4 separate regions of the Homo sapiens genome follow, and regions 1, 2 and 4 are each linked to region 3. The links are contacts of gene promoters, found by promoter capture Hi-C in human tissues and cell types (Jung and others, 2019). All regions are on one chromosome and are shown on one strand. The core of a region is centred on a gene start or on the middle of the fragment in contact, and the rest is flanking DNA. Distances in the headings are between cores, read along the strand shown.

Evidence for each region. The method cuts DNA at HindIII sites, captures the fragments that hold promoters and counts their contacts. A contact is called where the count stands out against the background at its distance.
Region 1: a fragment that was not itself captured here is called in contact with the fragment with the promoter of RBM24 in region 3 in 3 of the 25 tissues and cell types used here (IMR-90 fibroblasts, bladder and thymus).
Region 2: a fragment that was not itself captured here is called in contact with the fragment with the promoter of RBM24 in region 3 in 4 of the 25 tissues and cell types used here (H1 embryonic stem cells, IMR-90 fibroblasts, mesendoderm cells and 1 more).
Region 4: a contact is called between a fragment that was not itself captured here and the fragment with the promoter of RBM24 in region 3, in 2 of the 25 tissues and cell types used here (aorta and liver).

Annotation. Positions count from the first base shown.
Region 1 is chr6:17,561,353-17,567,781 of GRCh38, reverse strand. No RefSeq gene overlaps it. Among named protein-coding and RNA genes, the nearest start is that of FAM8A1, 36 kb to the left of the region's middle. The HindIII fragment of the contact is 7,354 bases long and covers 1-5,484 here.
Region 2 is chr6:17,535,193-17,542,007 of GRCh38, reverse strand. It overlaps CAP2 (cyclase associated actin cytoskeleton regulatory protein 2), which reads right to left. Exons shown (of 13, transcript NM_006366.3): 8 at 2,550-2,739; 9 at 860-1,035. Among named protein-coding and RNA genes, the nearest start is that of FAM8A1, 62 kb to the left of the region's middle. The HindIII fragment of the contact is 6,450 bases long and covers 1-4,726 here.
Region 3 is chr6:17,280,004-17,287,171 of GRCh38, reverse strand. RBM24 (RNA binding motif protein 24) reads right to left here and starts at 5,811. Exons shown (of 4, transcript NM_001143942.2): 1 at 5,423-5,811; 2 at 4,244-4,367; 3 at 2,461-2,515. The coding sequence starts at 5,590. The HindIII fragment of the contact is 10,579 bases long and covers 1,668-7,168 here.
Region 4 is chr6:17,747,052-17,753,328 of GRCh38, reverse strand. No RefSeq gene overlaps it. Among named protein-coding and RNA genes, the nearest start is that of NUP153-AS1, 43 kb to the right of the region's middle. The HindIII fragment of the contact is 4,502 bases long and covers 2,716-6,277 here.

The DNA of each region.
Region 1 (6,429 bases), core at 558-3,057, 280 kb before region 3:
AAAATGCTGGGATTACAGGTGTGAGCCACCACGCCCGGCCAAGTTCGTCTCAGTTCTTAAGCTCCTTACTTTTATATTGTGTTACCTGTTTTTTTTGTTGGTTTTTTTTTGGTTTTTTGACTAAAATAGTTATTGCAACAGAGGTTACTCTTGGATTTTAAGAAAGTGTGTGGTTTAGACACTTAGAAATGTCTTTGCTTAAAAAAGTTTTTTTTTTAAGTCACTGTAAAAGCATCACATGGTCTAACCTCAATAATTCTTCCTTTTTGTAGACCCAGGATTCAGTGTGGGCTCTGCCCAGAGCTCAGAGATCCACTTAAAAGATAGGTAGTCCCTATCTAAATAAAATTGGTCTCCTTATACAATCCTATGATAGATTTCTGCAACTTTATGTTTGATTTGATCAAATAAATGATTAGATTTTTAATCTCCCTCTAGCATCACCAGACTTTTTCTCTCTGTACCTTATGAGGTAAATTTTGCCATTTGATTTGCACCTGAGTTGTTTCCTTTAATATGAAAATTTAAGGCTATTTAGCTGACAACTGCCTAGAGTTGTGAAACAGGTTATCAAGAATCTGAAAGTCTAAGATAGGAAAAAAAAAAGGTTTTCATAAATCTGTAAGATGTACTTCTATTGGCATGCCTAATACATCTATGTATTTATGTGTTGTGTACACAATGTTTCACAACTGAAAATATATAAAAGAGCTCTAGTTAATTGGCTTAAGAAAATAAAAGCACTTGAATCAAATAGTTTATCACACAAAAAAAGACTAGTCAAATGCTTTTTCAAGTTTACATAACTTAAATAAAATCTTTAATAAATAAGCTAGCTTGAAAATTATAGGTAATTTTAGAAATGTCTTAAGAATTGCCAGCATACATTTTTGTTTGCATTTGTTAATCAAGCAATTTCATACTTATCCCTGCCAAATACTGTAAGGTGTCAAAATTTGGCACAGGGGTTACAAAACTGTAAATCCAGCCCAAGACAGAATGATCTTTGCTTGTGTAATATTTAATAAATAAGATATTGACACAGGTTTAATAAAAATAGCAACATCTTGAATTTAGTCAGACTACCATAACTTCTAATCTTGTGGCTTTAGGCAGTCTAGTCCACAGGCATTAAGGTTGGTTTTGAGAAAGGACTGTCATCATCTTTGTTCCAAAGCTAAACTATAAACTAAGTTCCTCCCAAAGTTAGTTCAGCCTACACCCAGGAATGAACAAGGACAGCTTGGAGGTTAGAAGCAAGATGGAGTCAGTTAGGACAAATCTTTTTCACTGTCGCAGTTATAATTTTGCAAAGTTATGGTGGTTCTATAACTTTAAATAATGAAATTACAGTTTTTATACATAATCTAGGTAAATGATTAAAATAAAATAATTAGGTAAATGTAATAGGATAAATACTTGCAGAAAAACTCATCATACTTTAGAATTTAAAGTTATATTAAATTAAATAAGAGATATTTCATTATTTGGTTATTTTTCAATAAAAATATATTTGTAAGAAAACATTTTTTTTTTGAGAAGGAGTCTTGCTCTGTCATCAGGCTGGAGTGCACTGGCATGATCTTAGCACACTGCAACCTCCACTGCCTGGGTTCAAGTGATTCTCCTGCTTCAGCCTCCTGAGTAGCTGGGACTACAGGCATGCACCACCACACCCAGCTAATTTTTATAATTTTAGTAGAGACCGGCTTTCACCATGTTGGCAGGGATGGTCTTAATCTCTTGACCTAGTGATCCACCTGCCTCGTCCTCCCAAAGTACTGGGATTACAGGTGTGAGCCACTGCGCCTGGCCAGAAAACATTCTTTCTTAACAAAAGTGTTTCTTTTTAAAAAGGTGAACAATTTTTGTCTAATTCAAAGCTTATTTAAAGGTCATGTATAAAACAAGGTAAAAAGAACCAGGAAATAAAAGAGATGTAACAAAAGTTATAAATATAAAGATTTTTTTTTTTTTTGGTAAGAAAGTTTAAAGAGTAATAATTTCATATGAGAAAGAATTTTGTGTGGTAAATTTAGCCCTAGAGTAAAATGACTGGTTGTTTAAGAAAGAGACATGTTCAGGACAAACCAGAAAGCCCAAGCATGTCATGAATGTTCTGTGAAAGTCACAGTAAGAAGATGTATTTAAAAAAAACACCAGGCCCAGCACAGTGGCTCATGCCTGTAATCCCAGCACTCTAGGAAGCCAAGGTGGGCGGAGGTCAAACACCTGAGGTCAGGAGTTTGAGACCAGCCTGGCCAACATGGCAACCATCTCTACTAAAAATATACAAATTAGCCAGGCGTGGTAACACGTGCCTTAATCTCAGCTACTTGGGAGGCTGAGGCAGGAGAATCACTTGAACCCAGGAAGCAGAGGTTGCAGTGAGCTGAGATTGTGCCATTACACTCTAGCCTGGGAGACAAGAGCAAGACTCTGTCTCAAAATAAAAAGAAAAAAAGAAAACAAAAACACCAAAAACTTTCATATGATCAAGTTGTCTATGATTAAGGGGAAACTATAATGGTCTTTCTAGGGATTGGGTTTGATGTTAAAAAAAACACTTCTACATGTATAATTGGTTAGAACAATGAAGTTTTCTTAAGGGGTTGATTTATGCAATAAATTATTATTATTATTATCTTTTTTTTTTTTTTTGAGACAGAGTCTCGCTCCGTCACCCAGGCTGGAGTGCAGTGGTGTGATCTCGGCTCACTGCAAGCTCCGCCTCCTGGGTTGCCATTCTCCTGCCTCAGCCTCCTGAGTAGCTGGGACTACAGGCACCCGCCACCATAACCAGGTAATTTTTTGTATTTTTAGTAGACAGGGTTTCACTGTGTTAGCCAGGATGGTCTCAATCTCCTGACCTCATGATCCACCCGCCTTGGCCTCCCAAAGTGCTGGGATTACAGGTGTGAGTCACTGTGCCTGACCTTATGCAATAAATTATAAGAGATTTTAATTTTTAAAATTTTAACCCAAAGTTCAACTTTTATTGCATGTCACCAGTTTGGGTGTTCTCTTCACTTTTAAAAGCCACGAAATAGTAACACTCTCCTTCAACTCATTTTCGGCTCATATGAGTCTTTTTTTTTCCCCCTTGAGTTCTGTTCTGTTTGTTTTGGCCTGATGGTAACAATGTTTTCTTAAAGATCTAAAGGAAACGTTTTCTTCCAGCATTATATTCTGTGCACTGTAGAAGGTCTTTTCTTTTGTCTTTTGGTAACTGGCCTAACAGATTTTATGTTTTATTGAAATAATTCTTATGCCACTATTATTAAGTTTGGTTTGCTTAGGAAAAACAGAGATTTAAACACTTTTTTTTTAAATTAAGGTAATTAAGGTTGTTACCTCCTTGTGTCTCCTGTATGTGCTTTTAAAGTCTTTGTGACATTGAGTCACAGGGCTTTGACTCCTGGGTCTAAAAAGAACAGCAAATCCTGCTAAATCTTAAACACTGATGGCAATTAAAGCCTTGTCTTTAGGCCCAGTAGAAGATGCCAATCAAAATAAACTGCATTCTTGAGACACAGGGCCAGAAATTAAAGCTATTCAACTCTTCAAGGCCCAGGGCATATTGCAGAAGAGGTGGTCATAAGAGATTGTAAGGGCCAATTTTGAGACATAAAATAAGTTCAGTTTCTCTATAGATTAATAATTAATGTGAAAGGCACACTGATGTAAGACCAGCATATGGGCCCCTGTGTCAGATTAACAAAGTTTTCTTGGCATTAACTTACTCCTTAATAAGGATTATAAAGGGTATAAAGGTTTATGGAAGTTATATGTTATGATCAGATCAGATGAAACTTTTATAGATTGTTTATAAAATTTTGGACAACAAATTTAATTGGCTTCATGCTGTATTTATGAGGGCTTATTGTTTGAAAAATTAAGTCTCCTCTGTCAAAGAATGAAAGTTTTTGCCTTGTTTTGAAGTCCTTGAGTTATCACTTTGATTAAATGAATGACTTATTTTACAATGACCTGTGATCCTATTTTGTAATATCAAATTTTTTTTTTTTTGAGACGGAATCTTGCTCTGTTGCCCAGGCTGGAGTGCAGTGGCATGATCTCGGCTCACTGCAACCTCCACCTCCTGGGTTCAAGCGATTCTCCTGCCTCAGCCTCCCGAGTACCTGGGACTACAGGCGCATGTCACCACACCTGGCTAATTTTTTGTATTTTTAGTAGAGACAGAGTTTTACCATGTTAGCCAGGATGGTCTCAATCTCCTGACCTTGTGATCTGCCCTCCTTGGCCTCCCAAAATGCTGGGATTACAGGCATGAGCTACCGTGCCCAACCTATATAAAATGTTTTAAACCTTTGGTATTTGACAAACTTCCAAAATCAAATTATAAATTATGTCTTTTACTGACCTAATTAATCCTTTAAGATATTCTTAATAGGTTCCCTAAAGTCTAAAAAATGACATATTTGGTTTATTTGGTACAAAAATTATACAGGAAGCATTGCCAAATATAAAATGGTGTTTGGTTTTCTTTGGGCTGTATTTGTATAACTATGTTATTGGTATGTGTTCCAAAATAATGGGAAACTCCTAAAATTCTGACATGACTTAATGTATGTTATCAGTAATTGTTAAGTTAAATTATTGTGTGCCACAGAGGTAACAAATTTCCTTGTAAATTGTGACTTTGACTATGGCTGCCTTAACACTTTTTGTCATCCACAGAAAATTGTTTTGTTTTGGTCCTCTCTAGAAGGTGGTTTTATAATCAGCTATAAGACTCGAACAGGTGTTCTTGAATGCAGGTTTCTGATAACTTTGAAGATTGTAACATCAGGAGAGAAGAACAACTTTCAGGACTCATGGAAAGCTGAAATGTTCATAAATATCAAGCAGAACAGAATTGACTGCATAGATAAACTAATAGAAGTCTGCAGTAATCTTTTTAACTTTTTACTTAAAACATTGCTGAACCTTTTTTTGTTTGTTTTTCAGAGTCGAGAAAACTTTCCTTTAAGCTATTTACAGCTTTTAACAATTGAGTAAAGTATACTTCCATGAACAAAATTTGGAGCATATTTGTTTCTCTCTACCTGATTTCTACAGAATTTGGCAACTATTTGTGAGTATTCTTAACTTATGACAATACAGTTATTTGCGTAAGTGCAGTAAGAATCTGTTTTCATTTGTAATAGGACACAATTGGAGAAACTGGTTATTTTACCAAGGCTTTGTCTGGAATGGTGTGCTTTCCTTTAAGAAATCAAACTTGACTTATGGAGCCAATAAAAGCCCCTTGAAAAACAGGCCTCATTTCTTTGTCTACACAGTCCCTGTACAGGGTTCCTGACCTGTGCTAAGTAAAGAATGCCACTTTCTGACAGGCCCAGGAGCCCCAAGTTTATACTGGAACCTCAGGTGGAGAGGAATTCACCCAACTCATAAGTATTTGATGATACAAATCCATGGCTGGGCTTGGCTTTAAAAAAGTCTTATCTGGGATTCCTTCTATGGAACAACATTCCATCAAGGCCAATTTAAAAGTCTATGTAAAAAATAATCATTCTTGCTGTGCTGTATACAAATAATTAGGCCAAGTATAATAAAGCAAACCAGTCCTACCATGGTTTGTCTTTAGTAAAAATGAGAAACAGGAGAGAGAAAAATTATGTTTTAAAAACTATAATATACTTTTGTTAGATTCTAGTCTTGCCTAATGTTTTTCAATTTTTATTATTTTCTACAATTTGGACAGAATTCTAATTTTTCTTGGCTACAAGTCTTCAAAATAATGTTTTCAATTTTTTTCTTTTTTTTCCCCCAATTTTTCTAATTTGAAGTCACTGAAAACTAAGCTGTGCTTTCGTAAAGCCCTGCAAACTAAAGCTAGACAACTTAAATCTCGGAAGAAAATAACTGTAACCTATTTACATACATAAGCCACTTTCATACCTGCTTACTGCGGTATGGACTTCAGAGTAATGTGGCCTATATCGATTTTCCAGGATTGCTCTGGTTGTTGTTTTCTTCCTTCCTCCCCCTATTTTATCTTCATAGGACATGAGACTTCATAATCTTCAAAAACGAGCTTTCTTAATAACTCAAGAACTGCCTATCTAGGAATAAACCATCCTAGCCATGATAAATCAGATGAAACCAGAGACTAGAGACTCATTTTCTTCTAAAATGCTTTATCCAAAAGATTTTAAAAAAGAAAATGGGGGAAATGTGACAGGAAAATATCTTGGGCCCCCCAAATCACTAAGCTAAAGGGAAAAGTCAAAGCTGGGAACTGCTTAGGGCAAAATTGCCTCCCACTCTATTCAAAGTCACCCCTCTGCTCACTGAGATAAATGCATATCTGATTGCCTCCTTTGGAGATGCTAATCAAAAACTCAGAAGAATGTAACCATTTGTCTCTACAAATGCATAGGTAGATATGCATCTACCTAT
Region 2 (6,815 bases), core at 252-2,751, 260 kb before region 3:
CAACCATATGAACAGACTTAATGCCACTGAGCTGGACAGTTAAACATGGTGAACAGTCCATTTTATGCTACGTCTATTTTACCACCACTCACAAAATAATTTAAAAAGTTGAAGAAAAGAATGCATGAGAACCTGTGAAAATAAAGTTTATGGAAGCATTCAGAAACACCCTGGTTTCTACTCTAGCCAGTGGTTTTTGCCTCTGTCACTTCACCTTGGTGGTTAATGGGTACGAACATATAGTCAGAAGGAATAAATTCTAATTCGACAGCAGAGTAGGGTAAATATAGTTAACAACACTGTCTTAAATATTTCAAAATAGCTAGAAAAGAGGCCTTGAAATGCTTCCATCACATAGAAATGATAAATACTCAAGGTAATGGACACCCTAAATATCCTGACTTGATCATTACCCATTCTTTTTTTTTGAGACAGAGTCTCACTCTGTCACCCAGGCTGGAGTGCAGTGGCGTGATCTCGGCTCGCTGCAACCTCCACCTCTCGGGTTCAAGTGATTCTCCTGTCTCAGCCTCTCAAGTAGCTGGGATTACAGGCACGTGCCACCATGCCCGGCTAATTTTTGTATTTTTAGTAGAGATAGGGTTTCACCATGTTGGCCAGGCTGGTCTCGAACTCCTGACCTCAGGTGATCCTCCCACCTCAAACCCCCAAAGTGCCGATCATTACACATTCTACGCATGTAACAAAATATCACAGGTACCCCATAAATATATACAAATGTTATGTACCAATACAAAAATTAAAAAAAAGAAATCCTTCAGATCTTGGTAAATGGTTTGGCTGTTGGTCCTTTCATTGGCGCATGTCAGGAAAATAAAGGTTAAAATGCTTCACTTACCACTCTCCATTTCTTTCCTTCCAACTCCAACACTGGGGCATGTTTTTGAGAAGGATAAGATTTAGGAGATGTGGGACTTGGAGTGTGACTTTTGGTGGGAGATTGAGTTTGCCCTCCTTGAGCCCGCAGGCTGGGATTTTTGTATGTCTTCTGGTCATCTGTGACATGGCGGAGCCCTAGGAGGACAACACACATGGACACATTTATTTTATGCAAAGGGAAATGTCTCTAACTTGCTAGATCAACATGATGTAAATAAAGAGCACAAGAACTTTTGGTAAGGCCACTTTCAAAACAGTCTAGTGCTTTCTCCAAGTCAGGATGCAGGAGCTGAGTCCTGTACAAGTTGAGAGTTGACAGAAGCACTGTAAGTTGTTGTTGTTGTTGTTGTTTTTTAAATGGAGTCTCGCTCTGTCACCTAGGCTGGAGTGCAGTGGCGTGATCTCGGCTCACTGCAACCTCTGCCTCCTGGGTTCAAGCGATTCTCCTGCCTCAGCCTCCCAAGTAGCTGGGATTACAGGCATGCACCACCACACGCTTAGCTAATTTTTGTATTTTTAGTAGAGATGGGGTTTCACCATGTTGGCCACGCTGGTCTTTGAACTCCTGACCTCAGGTGATCCACCCTCCTTGGCCTCCCAAAGTGCTGGGATTACAGGCGTGAGCCACTGCACCAGCCAAGTATTTTTTTTTTTTTTTTTAATTTGAGGAACCTCTTCTGTTGGGAGATAAAATGATAGATAAAAATTCTGCAAAGAGCAAACCACCTCACGAAAAAGGATCATGTCTTACTTCTTCTCTTACGGCTAAATCATTCTCCAGACACAGCCTAAAAGGTTAGGGCATTCCAGTGAGTATATATCAGGATATGGAATTGACTTTACGAATCCATTCCTTTACTTTGCAAATGAGTTTCACAAGGCACAGCAGAACCAGTTGGAGCCAGAGAAAAATTTAGAATTTTGGATTCTTAGCTCCAAGCCCAGTATAGTGGGATATAATTCTTTGACAAGCCTGTACACTGCTTCAGGACAGAGGAGCTAATGTTTGCCACTTTTATTTATTTAGAGACAAGGTCTCACTCTGTCACCCAGGCTGGAGTGCAGTGGTGCGATCTCAGCTCACCGCAGCCCCCACCTCCTGGGCTCAAGCGATCCTCCCACCTCAGATTCCTTAGTAGCTAGAACTGCAGGTGTGTGCCACAATGCCCAGCTAATTTCTGTTTATTTTTGGTAAAGATGGGGTCTCACTATGTTGCCCAGGCTGGTCTTGAACTCCTGGGCTCAAGCAATAGGCCTGCCTTGGCCTCCCAAAGTGCTGTGATTACAGGTGTGAGCCACCATGCCCAGCCTGCCATTTTTATTTTTATTTCACTTGATCTTGATGCCTTGGTTGTGGACAATGATGTGGAAGTACTGGGGTCTAAAGCAAGGATGCAGCACAGTGGTCCATTTAGAACCCAGAGTCTCTGAATACTTCTTTCTGGTCTACACAGTGACCCCCTGAGCCCGTCTGCATGGACATAAGGAACATGGCAGGCTCCTGTCTTCCCAGCACCAGTTCCCCCTCTCCCTGCATGCTGGAGGCAGGGATGGAGTGATGTATCCATCACTGGGGCTCCAGCGGCTCTTTTGTGTCTGGGAGCCAGAGGGAAAGGGAGGCAGCTTCAAGGTCTTCTTTTCTCTCTCACCTTTTGTAATTGCTTCTCCCTGGTTAAGTTGGGCAAATAAAGCTGAGCGTGAAGGAGAAGATTCCTCTTTTTTGCCTTCATTCTCGAAAAGTGGAGGTGGCCCTGGAGGAGGCAGAGGAGGAGGGGGTGGAGGAAGGCCAGGCCCAGAGGAGAGGACAGAAAACGCTGATACTGTGGATGCTACAGGACCCTGAGAAGACAGAAGACAGGGCATTGCATTGCATTGAGACTGCGCCCTTGCTGGGATTTTGCCCGAGAGAGTCGAAACCTGCTGCCAATGAGAGAGTGGGGTTGAAGCCTGAGCAAAGGCTCCCAGAGGGCACACCTGTGCATCATGGGTCTGTTTGGGAGGATCTGAACCATGGCAGCTCCAGCTTGGGAAAGTGGAACATGACTTAGCTGTGTGGCCCCATCAGTAGGATCTGTGCGGCAATGAGCCCTGCTGCCAAATCAGAGGCAAACGAGCCATACTCCCAAGTCCAGGTCCAAGGCTCAGGATCTAAATGACACTGGGCCTTGGCCAATTTAGAATCACAAGAAAAAAGTGATCCAATTGATAAAACGATTAGCTCTTTTGAGACACTGGAAACTGTGACCACCAATGGGGTGTGGGGAAGGGTAAAAATATTCAGTGGTGATTGGATGTTTCCGAACCTTTTTAAGCAGTGAAAGAGAGAGATACAGAAACTCTCTGGACCTGATTTTCCAAATATGCCTGCTGCAAACTGACCCCCAAACAAGGAGCATATGTGACCGGGATGCTTGTCAAACCCGAAGGTAATGAGGGTCCAGGATCCACATGACTTTTCATCAAATGTTGGCTGTTAGTGAACCAACTGAAAATTAGATTCTTCCTGATCCAAGAGCTATGGTTATTCTTATTTTCACTGCTATGTAAAGCACAACCTTTGTTTTCAGTATGAAAGCCTAACAAATTCAAATGGCAATAAGACGTGATAGACAAGAGAGAGACTTGCTTTAGTTCAGTTTTGCTTTTTTTTAAGGAGACAGGGTCTCACTCTACTGCCCAGGCTGTGTGCAGTGGCGTGAACATAGCTCACTGCAGCCCCAAACTCCTGGGCGCAAGCGATTCTCCTGGCTTAGCCTCCTGAATAGCTGGGACAACAGGCATGTGCCACTCTAACTGGCTAATTTTTAATTTTTTTTTTTTTTGAGAGATGAGGTCTCACTATGTTGCCCAGGCTGGTCTTGAACTCCTGGCTTTAAGTAATCCTCCTGCCCTGGCCTCCCAAAGTACCAGTTTTAATATTTTGGAAAATATCCAAAATATTGTATATCTGTGATATTTTCACAGAACTTAAAACTGGTAGGATAGAAACACACATATACCACAAACTTGGCCTATATACTGTTTTACTTTTATTTAATTTTGAGATGGAGTCTTGTTCTGTTGCCCAGGCTGGAGTGCAGTGGCATGATCTCGGCTCCCTACAACATCAGTCTCCCAGGTTCAAGCAATTCTCCTGCCTCAGCCTGTTGAGTAGCTGGGATTAAAAACATGCACCACCAAGCCCAGCTAATTTTTATATCTTTAGTAGACACAGGGTTTTGCCATGTTGGTCAGGCTGGTCTCGAACTCCTGACCTCAAGATTATCCACCCGCCTCAGCCTCCCAAAGTGCTGGGATTACAGGTGTAAGCCACTGTGCCCGGCCCTGTTTTACTTTTGAACCCTCAAGTAGAACTGTATACCTATAATAGGGAACTATAAACAAATTAAATAGTCACGAAGCTTAAAAAATTGCGAGTAATGGAAATGTGGCTTGGACTCATCAATTTTCAATATCAAATATGAAAGGTAAAACATTACGTAAGTGCCAAATATTAATGAAAACAGAATATCCTTATTGTCATAAACAATTTAGTATTATGCAGTATCAAAATCAGCGATTCTTAATCTGTAGTAGTTTTCAGTTAAAAACAAAACAAAACAAAACATGCTGGCTCGGGCATGGTGGCTCATGCCTGTAATCCTAGCACTTTGGGAAGCCGAGAAGGGTAGATCGCTTGGATCACTTGAGCCAGGAGTTTGAAACCAGCCTGGGCAACAAAGTGAGACCCTGTCTCTACAAAAAATACAAAAAATTAGCTGAGCATGGTGATGCATGCCTGTAGTCCCAGCTACTGCGGAGGCTGAGGTGGGAGGATCACCTAAGCCTGGGAGGCAGAGGTTGCAGTGAGTTGAGATCACGCCACTGTACCCCAGCCTGGAAAACAGAGAGTGAGACCCTGTCTCAAAGCAAAACAAAACAAAACAACACAACACGCTATTTTCAAAGCACTTATATAATTCCTATTAAGTGTAGAATTACCCTGAAAATAAAATATAATTGTCTTATTCAGAATGCATGTTTTAGAAACCCTGCAGGCTGGAGGGCTCATCTCCTGAAGATTTAATTTGCAATAGTCTTTGTTTCTAAGAAAGAGCAGCCTAATTCCATCAGGTTTCTTAGGTCAAGTAGAAAATGATTTCACAGTTCCTGAGACTGACCATTTTTCTCACCAGTATTTGAAATGTTTTCTATGTTACTGGGATAAAATTTGAGAATTTGCTCTGAATCAGAAAGAGAGTATAATATAAGCTTTGGACATCAAACAGTATTCTAGTCCTCAGACACTGAGAACCACGAAGTATTACTTTTACTCATAAGCACATCATAACTCATACAGCCGGTGAAGGGACAGCCCCTTCCCCCAACATCTGAAACACTGCAGCTTTATAGTCCTATTTTGTGTAAAGGGAAGATGATGCTGGCTTCTAAATCTTAAAATGATTTAGATGGTTCCCTAGCTCTCAGAATTCAGAGACTCTCTCTCCAAGAGCCATTAAAGGACACTGAAACTAAAAAGCCACATATTCAACTTTTTGGAACTTTGATACATTCAGATGGCTGGCCCAGGAACGCGAGACAAAGCATTTAATGCTACAAAGTTGAAAATAAAAGCCAAAAAATAAGGGAACTCAGGACCAGTTGAAACTCCATCTTGGTCTAATCCTTTGTATGTCCTGGCTTATTCCCATATCGGCCCCAGCAAGAGCACAATACCGGGCTCTTGTTTCCAAGGTTACTTTTCAATTAGCATTCAGGTGCTTTACCGTACAGTGGACTCGAAATCAAACTGATTAGATGTTCCCTTCACTGGATCTCCGTGAGCTGCCCCTTGCAAAGTCACTTATCTTTGCCTCCGTCTCTTCTCATTCTGTGGGAGATTACAGCACATGACAGGAGAACTTTCTATATTCTCTTATGTCTGGCCACAAGTGGAATCACAGCCTGACACTGTCTTCAGATGTCCCAAGAAAAAACAGAGAGAAGGCTGGGCGCGGAGGCTCACACCTGTATGTAGTCCCAGCACTTTGGGTGGCTGGGCTGGGTGGATCACCTGAGGTCAGGAGTTCAAGACCAGCCTGGCCAACATGGTGAAACACTGTCTCTACTAAAAATACAAAAATTAGCTGGGTGTGGTGGCTCACGCCTGTAATCCCAGCACTTTGGGAGGCCAAAAATTCCAAAGACGACTAGGCTGTGTCACAGAAATACTCTTGTGGGTGGAGGAGGTAGCAACATAGGCATCTGTATTTTTGGACCTTCCCTAGGTGATTCCAATCTGTAGACAAATTTGGGAATAAACATTCTTTCCTATGTGTTGAAATTAATCTTAATTATGACAACCATATTACTGGGACTGTACTGAAATATCTCTTTAACAAAAATACGGCAGGAAATCAGAAAGGCTGTTTAAATTCAATATTAAATGGCCAGTCAATGGTAAAGACATTATTGAATCACATATCTCCTTGATTCTAAAGCCTTCTTCAGGGAAATCTTTTATGCTATATTTGGACTTAAAAAAAAAAAGTCATGGCCAGTCACGGTGGCTCACGCCTATAATCCCAGCACTTTGGGAGGCCGAGGCAGAAGATCACCTGAGGTCAGGAGTTCAAGACCAGCCTGACCAACATGGCGAAACCCCGTCTCTACCAAAAATACAAAAATTAGCCTGGCGTGGTGGTGGGCACCTGTAATCCCAGCTACTCAGGAGGCTGAGGCAGGAGAATCGCTTGAACCTGGGAGGCAGAGGTTGCAGTGAGCCGAGATTGCGCCACTGCACTCCAGCCTGGGTGACAAGAGTGAGATTCCATCTCAAAAAAAAAAAAAAAAAGTCATTAGCCAAATTAAAGGAAGGTCTGGGCTACCTTGACTCATATGTAGCGCAGCCTGTGGGCCTCCGGCTAGAATAAATA
Region 3 (7,168 bases), core at 4,562-7,061:
GGTACAGACTCTGAAATTAGAGCAGTGTTGAGAACCTCTTAAAAAAGAAAGAGAAAGCTCACTTGGTCCACCTGGAATGCTATCTATTTCTAATAAGAATCTCAAGTTCAAACAATTTATGCACACACTAATAATCACCATCCTTTATAAAGACAGTTAATATTAGAAGAGGTGAAAAACAAAAGGTTGCTATCAAAACACACTTGCTTTCAAATTTCCATGACACATCTTACACTGGTGGTTGTAATTTTCCTTGTGTTACCTTCTTTCTTAAGAACTGATCTATAAGGACTTCCACAATCAGTCCAAATTCCTATGCCCAGCTCTCAAGACCCACCTTAGACAGTCTGGTTTCTCCACGCACTGAGTCTTCTCCTCTATGCCTCTGCTTCGGCTCACTCCATCCTATACCCTCCAGACATATCCAGTCTTCCTTTTACCTGCCTAAGACATACCCAGTGGTGCAAGTCTAGTGCCAGTCTACCTGCCATGCACACCACAGCCTTATTCAACTCCTCCACTTCATCTATTTTCTTGCTACTCTGAATTCCTTTTGTACTTGAAACAATACCAAGTCACTTAGAAATTAATAATTCTTGACTGGTTTTTGCATGACTTTTGCTTCCCAAACTAATGTGCAATTCCCTCATTTTGCATCACCCACTGGCACAGTGAAAAAATAAACACATGCAACTACCTGTTGATTGATTCAATTTTATAACTGTTTCAAGATTATTAGTGTGAGCCCACCACTAAGCTCACATCACACCTTCAGATATATGCTCTCCTCCCTAATCCCACCTTAAACAGTTAAGTCTAAATGAATTACCCACAGAAATAGCTGAACCCATCAACCCACCACTTGTTTTCAGTATTTGGGTTGGCTTGGATGGGGATTTGCTAAGTAGCTATGGATATAGGAAGGCCCTTTCTGATCATATTGAACAGAAGACTCTTCCACAGCTAAAAAAAAAAAAAAAAAAATAGTAGTAGTTGGCAATAACAGTGAGGTACCGATATGTTAGAGTTGTAAGGAGGTGGTCATGGGAAATATAACTTTACTCTTCCAAGTCAAGTTATTATTAATTTCTTTTTAAAATCTATTCTTAGAGACACATATGGTAGACATCTATCTATGTAGACAGATTCCAGCCTTCCAGGTTACACAGGTAGATGTTTTAGGTCCTAAGCTAGAGGAGAAATTATTATTGAGGATAAAACACTCTTTCAACAACATGAACATTTAAAAAGAAAATTTAAGTATCCTGCGTTAGAGTTACAGGCATGTTGATCAGGTAGAACAGAGCCAAAACAGAATCTAGTGTCCAGGATAAATTGAGGCGAGGGGTGATCTCCCACCCATATAACCTCTGAAAGGAAGAGAAATGAGGACCTTGGAACAGGAAAACTGGTAATCACAGGACCCAAAGACAACATAAATATGAACAGGTGTTCACCTGAGTTAGATCTGAAAGGTGAAAGTTAGTGTGACGCTACTCAAAAAAACTGGCTTGTGTTAATAAAATCTGATGAGAGTTGTTGAACCTTTAAATTAGATGGCCTAAAAGTGGATACACATTGCAAAAGAAAGAACCCCATTCCCAGAAAATTTCCCATAAAACAGAAACTTAGGACATGCAAGCAATGAATCTGTATTCTGACAAAGAGAAATCACACAATTTAGCACTCACTACAAAAATGTGGTTAAATGGAAGTCACAGGCTACAGCTTAAAAGCAAGAAAAAAAAAAAGGCCCTTTGCTTCCCATGGCAAAGTCAAAAGTCAACACCCCTCAACACCACCACCAAAATCAAAACGCAAAGAGCCCCTTCCCCGAGGAAAAGAAAACACTTTCACTACAGCTCTTTTCAATTAAGTAAAAAGCACACAGTTTAGCTATCAACACCACTTCATTACTGTAATAAATAAAATAAAGCACACGAAGGGCTATTGACTATTGTGAAAAATAAAAACAACAACACCAACATCCATGCATCGTTAATCACCATCTGAGCTTGTGTGTCTGAGTCTACTGGTTACAGAGTTTAATTCCAAACAGAACTATTCCACCTCTTATCATGGTATCCTTCTGATCAGTTAGCTTAACTGTATACGAGCCCTGTCAGGTTAGAAAGAGATAAATAAAATTGAGTCAAGTCGAACAGTAGTAATGGTGATGGGACACAATCGTCTTGTACACAAGTCATACCTGGTATTTTTGTTTTGTTTTGCTAATCATAAGCTCAAAATTTGTCTCGTTTGGAGGCTGCATACTTGGTCAGATAACTTGACTCATCTAAAAATATTTATAGTATCAGCATTAAAAATGCACAAATATATATAAAATTGTATAACTAGGACCATTCTGTGACATCATGATCTTATCTGTATATAACAAAGAGGCACGTTAACAAATGATAGTCATACTGAAACTTAAGAAAGCCTGATTAATCAACTTACCCGAAAGGTCTTTGTATAAGGGCTGGATGAAGTTGTTGAACACCAAAGGCAAAACCTAACAACAAAATATACCACATTCTTTATTTGTGCATGGTTAGGCATTTATTATTCCTACATGTAAAATGCAATCACAACTTTCACTTATAAAAGATAAACATTCTTTCGCCACTTTAAAGAAACTATATGTATGTATATTTTTTAAAGTCAGTTTTATAAATGCTATCATTGATTCAAAATAAAGGTTTTAACAGAGAAAAGGTGAAAACTTTAAAAAAATCTGCAAATTTTAGTTGACAGACACAGAATCAGACCTTGGGAAAATGTTCATGAAATAAAATTAAGTACAGCAGGATTTGACAGTGAAGTTACATCTCAAATATTCTCACAGTTTTGAACCAGAATCTATGAAAAGTCTTTGTAATTTGGAACGTTCTGGGATGCTTCAGACAATGCTTTGGAAGATTATGGGTTTTACACTTTCCAGTATTAAAAATTCACAAAAAAAAATGTTTTTTTTCTGGATACTACATACCCACAATGTATTAGACAAATTTTTTTAACGCCCATGAATATTTGCACAAACACTCATTTTCTTGACAACCTAGTTTCCTTTTAAACCCGTTTGGATGGAAGTGTCAACCTCTTCCCAAAATTTCAGATGGAAAGGCTTAGGAGTGAAGAGTATATGATTTAATCAAACTTTACAAGTAAAGTTGCCTGACCAAAGAAAATATTATATTTGCTTAAAAATCAACTCTCAACTATTTGTGCTAATGCAAAGGGCAGTGTTGTAAATAATCCAAGAGGTATTGTTTTCCCATAGACAAAAAACTGCTCCCTTTTGGCAACTAATAGCTACATGACTTAAGTAAAATATTTCTCATCTCTAAGCATCAGTTTCTTTGTCTGTAGCATAGGGTTCTTGAGTAGGTGCAATTTCTGTTTTCTTTGATTGCTAATACTCTGTGATTTTATGTTGAAGGTTTACCATTTTGGGCCAGGCGCGGTGGCTCACGCCTGTAATCCCAGCACTTTAGGAGGCCAAGGCGGGTGGATCACCTGAGGTCAGGAGTTCAAGACCAGCCTGACCAACACAGTGAAACCCCGTCTCTACTAAAAATACAAAATTAGCTGGGTGTGGTGACACATTCCTGTAATCCCAGCTACTTGGGAGGCTGAGGCAGGACAATCACTTGAACCCAGGAGGCGGAGGTTGCAGTGAGCCTAGATCGCGTCATTGCACTCCAGCCTGGGCAACAAGAACGAAACTCCATCTCAAAAAAAAACAAAACCTTTACCATTTGGACATCGCCCCTACCCCTTAATGCTTCCCTTGGGTCTGTGTTCAAGTCAGACTGCCTGCTCTGAGCACAGTGCAACTGGTGCTAAAAGGAGAGACACCACTAAGTAGGGAAGTATATTAGCTGAAGTCGACAAATTTGGCCTATATAATCCACATGTGAATTATCTACAGGTGGCTAAAAATTGGAAAATTGAGAGCAGACTACAAATGTATGCCATATAGGAAACAGGTGAGACATGACTAACTCTTCTTCCTGCACGACCCCCAAGATCCATTTTTGCACACAGGTACATTTCAAGCCTTGAGAGGAGTATTTACAACTCTCATTTATGTTTAATGCCTTGGTAGAATAACAAGCCATGGTTCAAGTTTACTAAACACATCTACAGAAAGAGACAATGTCTTCTAAATTAGAGAATCATCCCACCCATAAATGGGGGGTTCTTGGAGAGGGGGGTAGGGGAGACAGACATTTCTCACCTGGTTGCATGATCCTTGGTTTTGCTCCTAAGTATGCCAGGTTCACGTTGGCCTTTCTGCCATCAATGATGGGATTGGGATCCTTGCAGGCCCTTTCGGCAGCAGCCCGGTCAGCCATGGTGACCTTAGCAACAGACACACACAGACATACATACATAACCTCTAAATTAACCCATGAAGGAAATCAAGAATCACAATGGAGAAGTCATTCATGATAAAACTGAGATCAAACTTTTTTTCTATTCTTTGCTTCTTTTGGCTGGACCCTCCTCCTTGATCTCCCATTTTTAACAGGCGGGCGGGGGCGTGGGGGGGGGGGGCGGGTAGACGAAGGAAAAAAGAAAGAAACCCTCTAACCCTGCCTCCCCCCACCCCACCGCCGAAATCTTAAGGGTGTTAGTAGGGCCTAGCCGAGATTTGGAAGCCTAAATTCTTGGAACTCTAGATCCTCCTTCCCCCGAATCCCCCGCCCCCCAGGTCCCTACTCAGCCTCAGAGGCACCGTTTGCTTTAAAGAAAGTCCAGCCTTACATCCGCCCAACGCTCCCAACCTCGAAAACACTCCCCAACGACAATAGCTATTGTCCTACTCTGGGGCTCCCTGCTCTTCGGCAGCTGAATTTGCACGCTTAAATCTCTAGGAAGGAAGCTTAATATGCTCTGTTTCAGTTCGGCAAAGAGCCCTAGGATCATGATTTAAAAGAACCTACCTTTGCAGTTAAAAGGCGGGGGGATGACACAAGGGCAACAGCCCCAGACCTCGTGGGGTGTCCCCTCCCTGCCCCAGCCAAAACACCAGAACACACGCATTTTTACAAAGCAACAGCGCGCTTAACAACCGGCATCCAGCCCGGGAATGCAATTGTTCAGGGTTGCGGCCCCTCCCTCGCAACCCTCCGCACCCCAAATCCCGCCGTCATTACAGGTCTCTCCTTTCACCCCTGCTCTGCCCTGCCCGGCCCCCGACCTCGCACAGCGCTGGGTCTTCTCCGAACCCCGCGAGGCTGGCGCCGACCCTCTCCCCTAGCAAAGTTTCAGTTCACCCCGGAGCGAAGGGGCAGCGCCGCTCTACCCGCGGGGCTCCTCACGGGTCACGCCGAGCCCCTCACTCCAAGCTCCCGATCCCCGGGGTCAGCCGCCACTCCGTCCCTCCCCGTCACCCCCAGTCCGTGCAACTTACAAATCCATAGCCCCGGGACTTGCCCGTCTGCCGGTCGGTGATGACCACCGCCTCCTCGATCTCGCCGAAGACCTCGAAGTACTTGCGCAGGCTGGCGTCGGTGGTGTGGTAGGGCAGCCCCCCGACGAAGATCTTGGTGTACGTCGTGTCCTTCTGGGTCGTGTGCATCTTCGCACCCGCCCCGCGGCTCGGGCTCCGGCTGCGGCTGCGGCTCGGGCAGCGGCTGCGCCTCCTCCTCCGGCTCCGCGTCTCCCGCACCCTTTCGCGGCCGCCGGGGGCCAAGGGCGAGCCCGGGGGCGAGGGCGGCGGCGCGGCGGGGGCGAGCGGCCGGGGGCGGCCGAGAGCGCCGGGCGCGCGGCTTCCGAAGTCGCCAGCGGCCCTGGAGACTTGACTTCGCTCTCTCCTCCCGCCCCCCCTGCCGGTCACCGTACAAATTCTCCGGATCGTCTGGATTAGAATCGGGTTCTATAGAATGTGCAAGCGGTTTCCACTCACCCGGCGGGGAGGCCAAAAATGAAAAGAGAGGGTAGTTCTCAAGCGAAGAAGCGGGTGCTTTAGAGGTAGATTTTTCTTCCTTAGGAATCAGGTGCCTTGGGTGGGGTGTGGGGAGGGTCCGCGGGAAGAGCGTCCGAGCGCCGAAGCGGGCGGGGGGCGCGGCGGCGGGGCCAGGGGCGAGGAACTCCGCGCAGCTTCGGCTCTGGTCTGTCCCTCCCGCCGTGGGATCTGGAAGACGAGTGCCGAGGACAGCTCTCCACCTCTCTGCTCCCTTCCCCCGCGGGCCGGGGGTCGACGCCCGGCTGGGGAGGGGGGCGGGCCGGACGCCTGCGATTGGCCGCGGCAGCACCTGGGGCGCCGGGCGCCGCCGCCCCCCAGCTGTTGGGAACAGCTGCTTCTCTCCCCGCGCGGCGCGGCGCTGGGGCTCGGGGCTCCCGCTCTGTAGCCGGCGATGGGGTAGGGCTGGAGACGCCTGTAGGCGGCCTGGCTCTCGGCGTCGCCTGCTCTAACCAGTCAAAGTCTTAGGGACCCGGCGCAGCACCAGCCGGGACCCAGGGTGCGGGGACTGTGCCCAAGGAGGAAGCTGCGTTGCTTTCCAGAGGGGACGACGCGAGCTTTTTGGGTTAGGCCTCGGTGACAGGGCCGGCGACCTGGACTGGCGAACTGGGGTCCCCAGAGGCCTGGGGCGATTCGCTGAGAGGCCAATCCCCTCCCGGGCGCGGGGGGTCAAGGAGCTCGGCCGAACGAAACCCAAGCTGGACACCCTGGGGTCTGAAGAGTGAGAAGGAGGGCCCCAACTTTCTTTGGCCCCAAAAAGCCAGTGCGGGGAAGTATCAGAGAGGTAGAGCCAGAAGGAAAAGAAAGATCTAGCGCTTGGGTGTAGTTGGGAAAACCATTAGCTTTAATTGCTACCGCCCAGCCAAACCAAGTAACCGGAGATACCTATGTCCATCAGGCACCGCCTTCTATTTCAGAGGACCATAAGTTAGTATTTTAGCCCCCACAGTCACCAAATTTGTCTTTCCTCCCTAACTTAGTTATTCAGGAAGATTGGTACAGATGTCTTAGCATAAGTCGTTCTTTTTTTTTTTTTTTCCCTAAACAAAGAATTAATCTATTTCTTTCTCTTTGAATTACAAGAATGTTTAGTGGCTTGACCTCATCTGTTTTTATCTGGATGTAAATGTAAAAGGTATAATTTTTGAAATCAACTTATTGCATAACCAGTGGTTTCTACCAGCAGACCTGAAA
Region 4 (6,277 bases), core at 3,717-6,216, 470 kb before region 3:
AAATGTAAAAATACACGAATTATCAAAAACTGGTATAGATATGTAGAAAAGGATTCCTGATCAGTTTCTTCCTGTTTAGGCTCTTGCAGGTAAATATTCAATATAAACTCAGCCTCAGAGCTTCTTTTCCCCTCTTGAAGTCTGTCCCCTGAGCCCCATGCTTCTAAGGATGGGTCTGGAAGGTTCCTTTTGTTATCCTGTTGGCCAGGGTAGCACCTGTAGTCTGTCGTCTTCTGCTAGTTTCTGCTGACCCTGGTTGAGGAGAAGTTTTCTCATAGAATTTTTGGTCATAGACTTCTGTCCTGGCCTCACTCACCACTGATGTCAATAATGGTCTGTCCTCCAGGAAACTTTCTGCAGGACAATTGCCTGGCAAACTCTGCTTATAGCTTTTCCCACTTGCCTTGCACTGGTACTTATGAGGCTCAGCTGCCCTTGCCCCTGGCTCCAGCTCTGGGCTGTCCAGCACACAGCCCCTGCCATGGCACCCCTGTACCGTGCCTATGCTGTCGTGAACCTGGACAGTCACAGTGACTCTTAATTTTCAGCTTTCTTGGCCAGGCACGGTGGCTCGTGCCTGTTACCCCAGCATTTGGGAGGCCGAGGTAGGTGGATCACCTGAGGTCAGGAGTTCAAGACCAGCCTGGCCAACATGATGGAACCCCGTCTCCACTAAAAATACAAAAAAAATTAGCCAGGTGTGATGGTAGGCACCTGTAATTCCAGCTACTCGGGAGGCTGAGGCAGGAGAATGACTTGAACCCGGGAGGCGGAGGTTGCAGTGAGCCAAGATCGCGCTATTGTACTCCAGCCTGAGTGACAAGACCAAGACTCCATCTCAAAAAAATTTCACCTTTCTTCTTGCATTACTCATGGGTCTTTCAGGAACTCATCCATGCCTCAAAGAGGACCAACTGAATGTTTTCTGGAGCCTATCTATTCCTTCCATTCTGTCAAAACAAGACTGGAAGGGTGCCAATAGGAAGAAGCAAAGCACCAGCCTATGCTGTCTCAATTTCTCTCTCAAACTATCTGAGCCTCAAAAAGTGTTGCTCATATCTAACTCCTCACCTCAGCCCAAGGTGTAGAGCACTGGGTCTCCTCTTATGGACTAAGATACATCCTTACCCCAGTCTCAACCTCCTGATTCTCTCTGCCCCATTTTTCTCTTCCCCCTCCCTAATTTCTCCTTTCTCCTTCCTTTCTTGTCTCAGAGGAACTACCCTTAGGTCACAGAGCCATACTCTCTACACTCTGGCTTATAACAAAATACTGACTTCCAAGCTTTTTTTTTTTTTTTTTCTTTTCTTTTCTTTTTGTCGTAATAGAGATAAGGCCTCGCTATGTTCCTCAGGCTAGTCTTGAACTCCTGGGCTCAAGCAGTATTCCTGCCACAACCTCATAAAGTGCTGGGATCACAGGTGTCACGATGCCCAGCCCTGATTTTTTTTTTTTTTTTCTAAGAGATGGAGTCTCAAGCCAGGCACAGTGACTTACGCCTGTAATCCCAGCACTTTGGAGGCGGAGGTGGGTGGATCACTTGAGGTCAGGAGTTTGAGACCAGCCTGGCCAACATAATGAAACCCTATCTCTACTAAAAACACAAAAATTAGCCAGGTGGGGTGGCCCACGCCTGTAATCCCAGCTACTCGGGAGGCTGAGGTGAGAAAATCACTTGAACCCGGGAGGCAGAGGTTGCTGTGAGCCAAGATGGTACCACTGCACTCCAGCCTGGGCAGCAGAGTAAGATTCTGTCTCAAAAAAATATATAAAAAATATTTCCACTGCATTGCTATTTATTAAATGTAAGGGATTTAATATGCATTGCTCACATAATCATTCCAACAGCCCTGTGAGGTAGACACTGTCATTAACCCCATTTTACAGATGCGGAAATTGTGTCTCAAAGGGGTTAAGGATCTGTCAGGATTACAGAGTATCACTTAATATGAGCTTACAAAAAAACAACAACAAGGCCGGGCACCGTGGTTCACGCCTGTAATCCCAGCACTTTGGGAGCACGAGGTCAGGAGATCGAGACCATCCTGGCTAACACGGTGAAACCCCATCTCTACTAAAAAATACAAAAAATTAGCCAGGCATGGTGGTGGGCGCCTGTAGTCCCAGCTACTTGGGAGGCTGAGGCGAGAGAATGGCATGAACCCGGAAGGCAGAGCTTGCAGTGAGCCGAGATCGTGCCACTGCACTCCAGCCTGGGTGACAGAGCAAGACTCCATCTCAAAAAACAACAACAACAGAAGATCACAAAGGGCCAGGCACGGTGGCTCACACCTGTAATCCCAGCACTTTGGGAAGCCGAGATCAGGAGTTCATAACCAGCCTGGCCAACATGGTGAAACCCCATCTCTACGAAAAATACAAAAATTAGCTGGGTGTGGTGGCACACGCCTGTAATCCCAGCTACTCAGGAGGCTGAGGCAGGAGAATCGCTTAAACCCAGGAGGTGGAGGTTGCAGTAAGCCTAGATCGTGCCACTGCACTCCAGCCTGGGCAACAGAGTGAGACTGTCAAAAAAAAAAAAAAAAAAAAAAAAAAAGATCACAAAGACCAGAAAGGGAAGGAGCTAGGCTTCAAATCCAGGAAAACTGTCTGCATAAGAATCTGTCAGTCTCAGCCGGGCGCGGTGGCTCATGCCTGTAATCCCAGCACTTTGGGAGGCCGAGGTGGGTGGATCATTGAGGTCAGGAGTTCAAGACAAGCCTGGCTAACATTTTGAAACCCCATCTCTACTAAAGATAGAAAACTTAGGCGGGGCGTGTAGCTCACACCTGTAATCCCAGCACTTTGGGAGGCCAAGGCGGGCGGATCATGAAGTTAGGAGATTGAGACCATCCTGGCCAACGTGGTGAAACCCCATCTCTACTAAAAATACAAAAAAATTAGCTGGGCTTGGTGGCACAAGCCTGTAGTCCCAGCTACTCGGGAGGCTAAGGCAGGAGAAGCACTTGAACCCGGGAGTTGAAGGTTGCAGTGAGCTGACATTGCGTCACTGCACTCCAGCCTGGCAACAGAGTGAGACTCTGCCTCAAAATAAATAAATAAATAAATAAGCCGGGCGCGGTGGCTCACGCCTGTAATCCCAGCACTTTGGAAGGCCGAGGCGGGGGATCACGAGGTCAGGAGATCGAGACCATCCTGGCTAACACGGTGAAATCCCGTCTCCAGTAAAAATACAAAAAATTAGCTGGGCGTGGTTGTGGGCACCTGTAGTCCCAGGTACTTGGGAGGCTGAAGCAGGAGAATGGCGTGAACCCGGGAGGCAGAGCTTGTAGTGAGCTGAGATTGCGCCACTGCCCTCCAGCCTGGGCGACAGAGCGAGACTCCGTCTCAAAAAAAAAAAAATACAAAAATACAAAAATTAGCCAGGCGTGGTGATGGGCGCCTGTAGTCCCAGCTTCTCGGGAGGCAGAAGCAGAAGAATCGCTTGAACCCAGGAGGCGGAGATTGCAGTGAGCCAGGATCACGCCACTGCACTCCAGCCTGGGTGACAGAGCGAGACTCTGTCTCAAAAAAAAAAAAAAAAGTCAGTCTCAAAATCTTGTTCAGAAGAACTGCATAGAACTGTACAGTGGCTGCCACAGTTATACTTGACTTAGTTTTGAATTTTCAGCAGAAAAGGAAAAACTGCAGGAGTGGCATTCCTCCTTTCTGGGCAGCTCTGATACTTTGCTGTTTGTTTCCCCCTTATCTGGTGATCTCCAGCCTTTAAGGTGATAAAATGTAGCTCTTGACTAAAGATTGGGGCATCCCTGACACAGATTCAGTATATAGACAGGAAAGATCATTCTTTTTTTTTGAGACACAGCTTCACTCTGTTGCCCAGGCTGGAGTGCAGTGGCACGATCTTGGCTCACTACAACCTCCACCTCTTGTGTTCAAGCGATTCTCATGCCGCAGCCTCCCAAGTAGCTGGGATTACAGACGTGTGTCACCATGCCAGGCTAATTTTTTGTATTTTTAGTAGACACAGGGTTTCACCATTTGGGCCAGGTTAGTCTTCAACTCCTGGGCTCAAGTGATCCACCCGCCTCGGCCTCCCAAAGCGCTGGGATTACAGGCGTGAGCCACTGCGCCCAGCCAGGTGAGATCATTCTTTAAAACACACACAAACTTGAGAAAATAAGCTTATTCTAAAATGTAGTAAAGGCCGGGTGCGGTGGCTCATGCCTGTAATCCCAGCACTTTGGGAGACCAAGGCGGGCGAATCACCTGAGGTCAGGAGTTTGAGACCAGCCTGGCCAACATGGTGAAACCGTCTCTACTAAAAATACAAAAATTAGCCAGGCATGGTGGTACGTGCCTGTAATCCCAGCTACTCGGGAGGCTGACGCAGGAGAATGGCTTGAACCCAGGAGGCGGAGGTTGCAGTGAGCTGAGATTGCACCATTGCACTCCAGCCTGAACAAGAGCAAGGCTCCGTCTAAAGAAAAAAAAATAGCCGGGCGTGGCGGCTCACGCCTGTAATCCCAGCACTGTGGGCGGATCACAAGGTCAGGAGATCAAGACCATCCTGACTAACACAGTGAAACCCCGTCTCTACTAAAAATACAAAACAAATTAGCCAGGCGTGGTGGCGGGCGCCTGTAGTCCCAGCTACTCAGGAGGCTGACGCAGGAGAATGGCGTGAACCCGGGAGGCGGAGCTTGCAGTGAGCCGAGATTGCGCCACCGCACTCCAGCCTGGGCAACAGAGCAAGACTCCGTCTCAAAAAAAAAAAAAAAAAAGTAAAAATATAATATGAAAGGGAGCATCACTCCTCACTCATAAAGCATGAGGTGTGCCGCACAGTGACTTCCTTCTAAAAAGTATGGAAAAGGGAAAATGTAACTTTGTAGTAGAGAAACTTGACAAACACGACTTCAGGTGATCAAAGTCAACATCAACAGTGATAAGTCATGTAGACAGTATGTACCATTGACACCATGTGATACAAATGGCACTTCACCAATGTGATTTTCCTCCCCAAACCCATAACCCCAGTCTAATTATGAGAAAAACATCAGGCTTACAATACACCTTAGGAAACTCCTCAAACATGTCAGACATCAAAATCAAGTAAAGTCTGAGATACCATCACAGCCAGGAGGAGCCTAAGAAGACAGGACAATTAAATGTAGTGTGACAGCCTACATGGGATCCTGGAACAGAAAAAGGGAATTAGGTAAAAACTAAGAAATTGGCCGGGCGCAGTGGCTCATGCCTGTAATCCTAGCACTTTGGGAGGCCGAAGCAGGTGGATCACAAGGTCAGGAGTTCAAGACCAGACTGGCCAAGATGGTAAAACCCCATCTCTACCAGAAATACAAAAATTAGCCAGGCGTGGTGGTGGGTGCCTGGAATCCCAGCTACTCAGGAGGCTGAGGCAGAGAATTGCTTTAACCCTGGAGGCAGAGGTTGCAGTGAGCCAAGGTCACACCACTGCACCCCAGCCTAGGCGACAGAGCTAGACTCCGTCTCAAAAAAAAAAAAAAAAACCTAAGAAATTAACTGTGAAGTTTAGTCGTGTGTGTGTGTGTGTGTGTGTGTGTGTGTGTGTTAAATGAGTTAAAACCATGTGGGGTTTTTTTGTGTTTGTTTGTTTTTTGAGACGAAGTCTCGCTGAGGTGGGAGGATCACTTGAGCCCAGGAGGCTCAGGCTGCAGTGAGCTGTAGTGAGATTGTGCTACTGCACTCCAGCCTGAGTGAGAGAGCAAGACCCTGTCTCAAACATACATAATTTTAGAAATAAAAATTTAAAAAAAAAAGCTTTCACAGTAACCTAGAAGATATGGGTTTGAATTGGCTTGATGAAGGCAGAATGGAAGTGACATATTAGAGATATGTTTTATAGTGACTGCTGAAATATGGGGGATGAATACTAGCTTAGGGTGTTGGGACTAATGGCATTAGCTGATATTAGGAATGCAGGAGAAAGAACATCTTTGAATGGCAAGATAATTGATGTTTTGGACAAGTGCTCAGTAAAGGTAAGTAGCTTTTCTCTCAGAGATACTTTCTACCCCTATATTGTTTCAATTCACCTGTTCTTTGACTTCTTCCTCCTTCTTCCTTACTATGCAGGAAAAACAAACCAGACACAGCTTTTTTTTTTTTTTTTGAGGCAAAGTCTCGCTCTGTCACCCAGGCTGGAGTGCAGTGGCATGATCTTGGCTCACTGTAACCCCCACCTCCTGTGTTCAAACGATTCTCCTCCCTCAGCCTCCCGAGTAGCTGGGACTACAGGCGCGCACCGCCACACCCGACTAATTTTTGTATT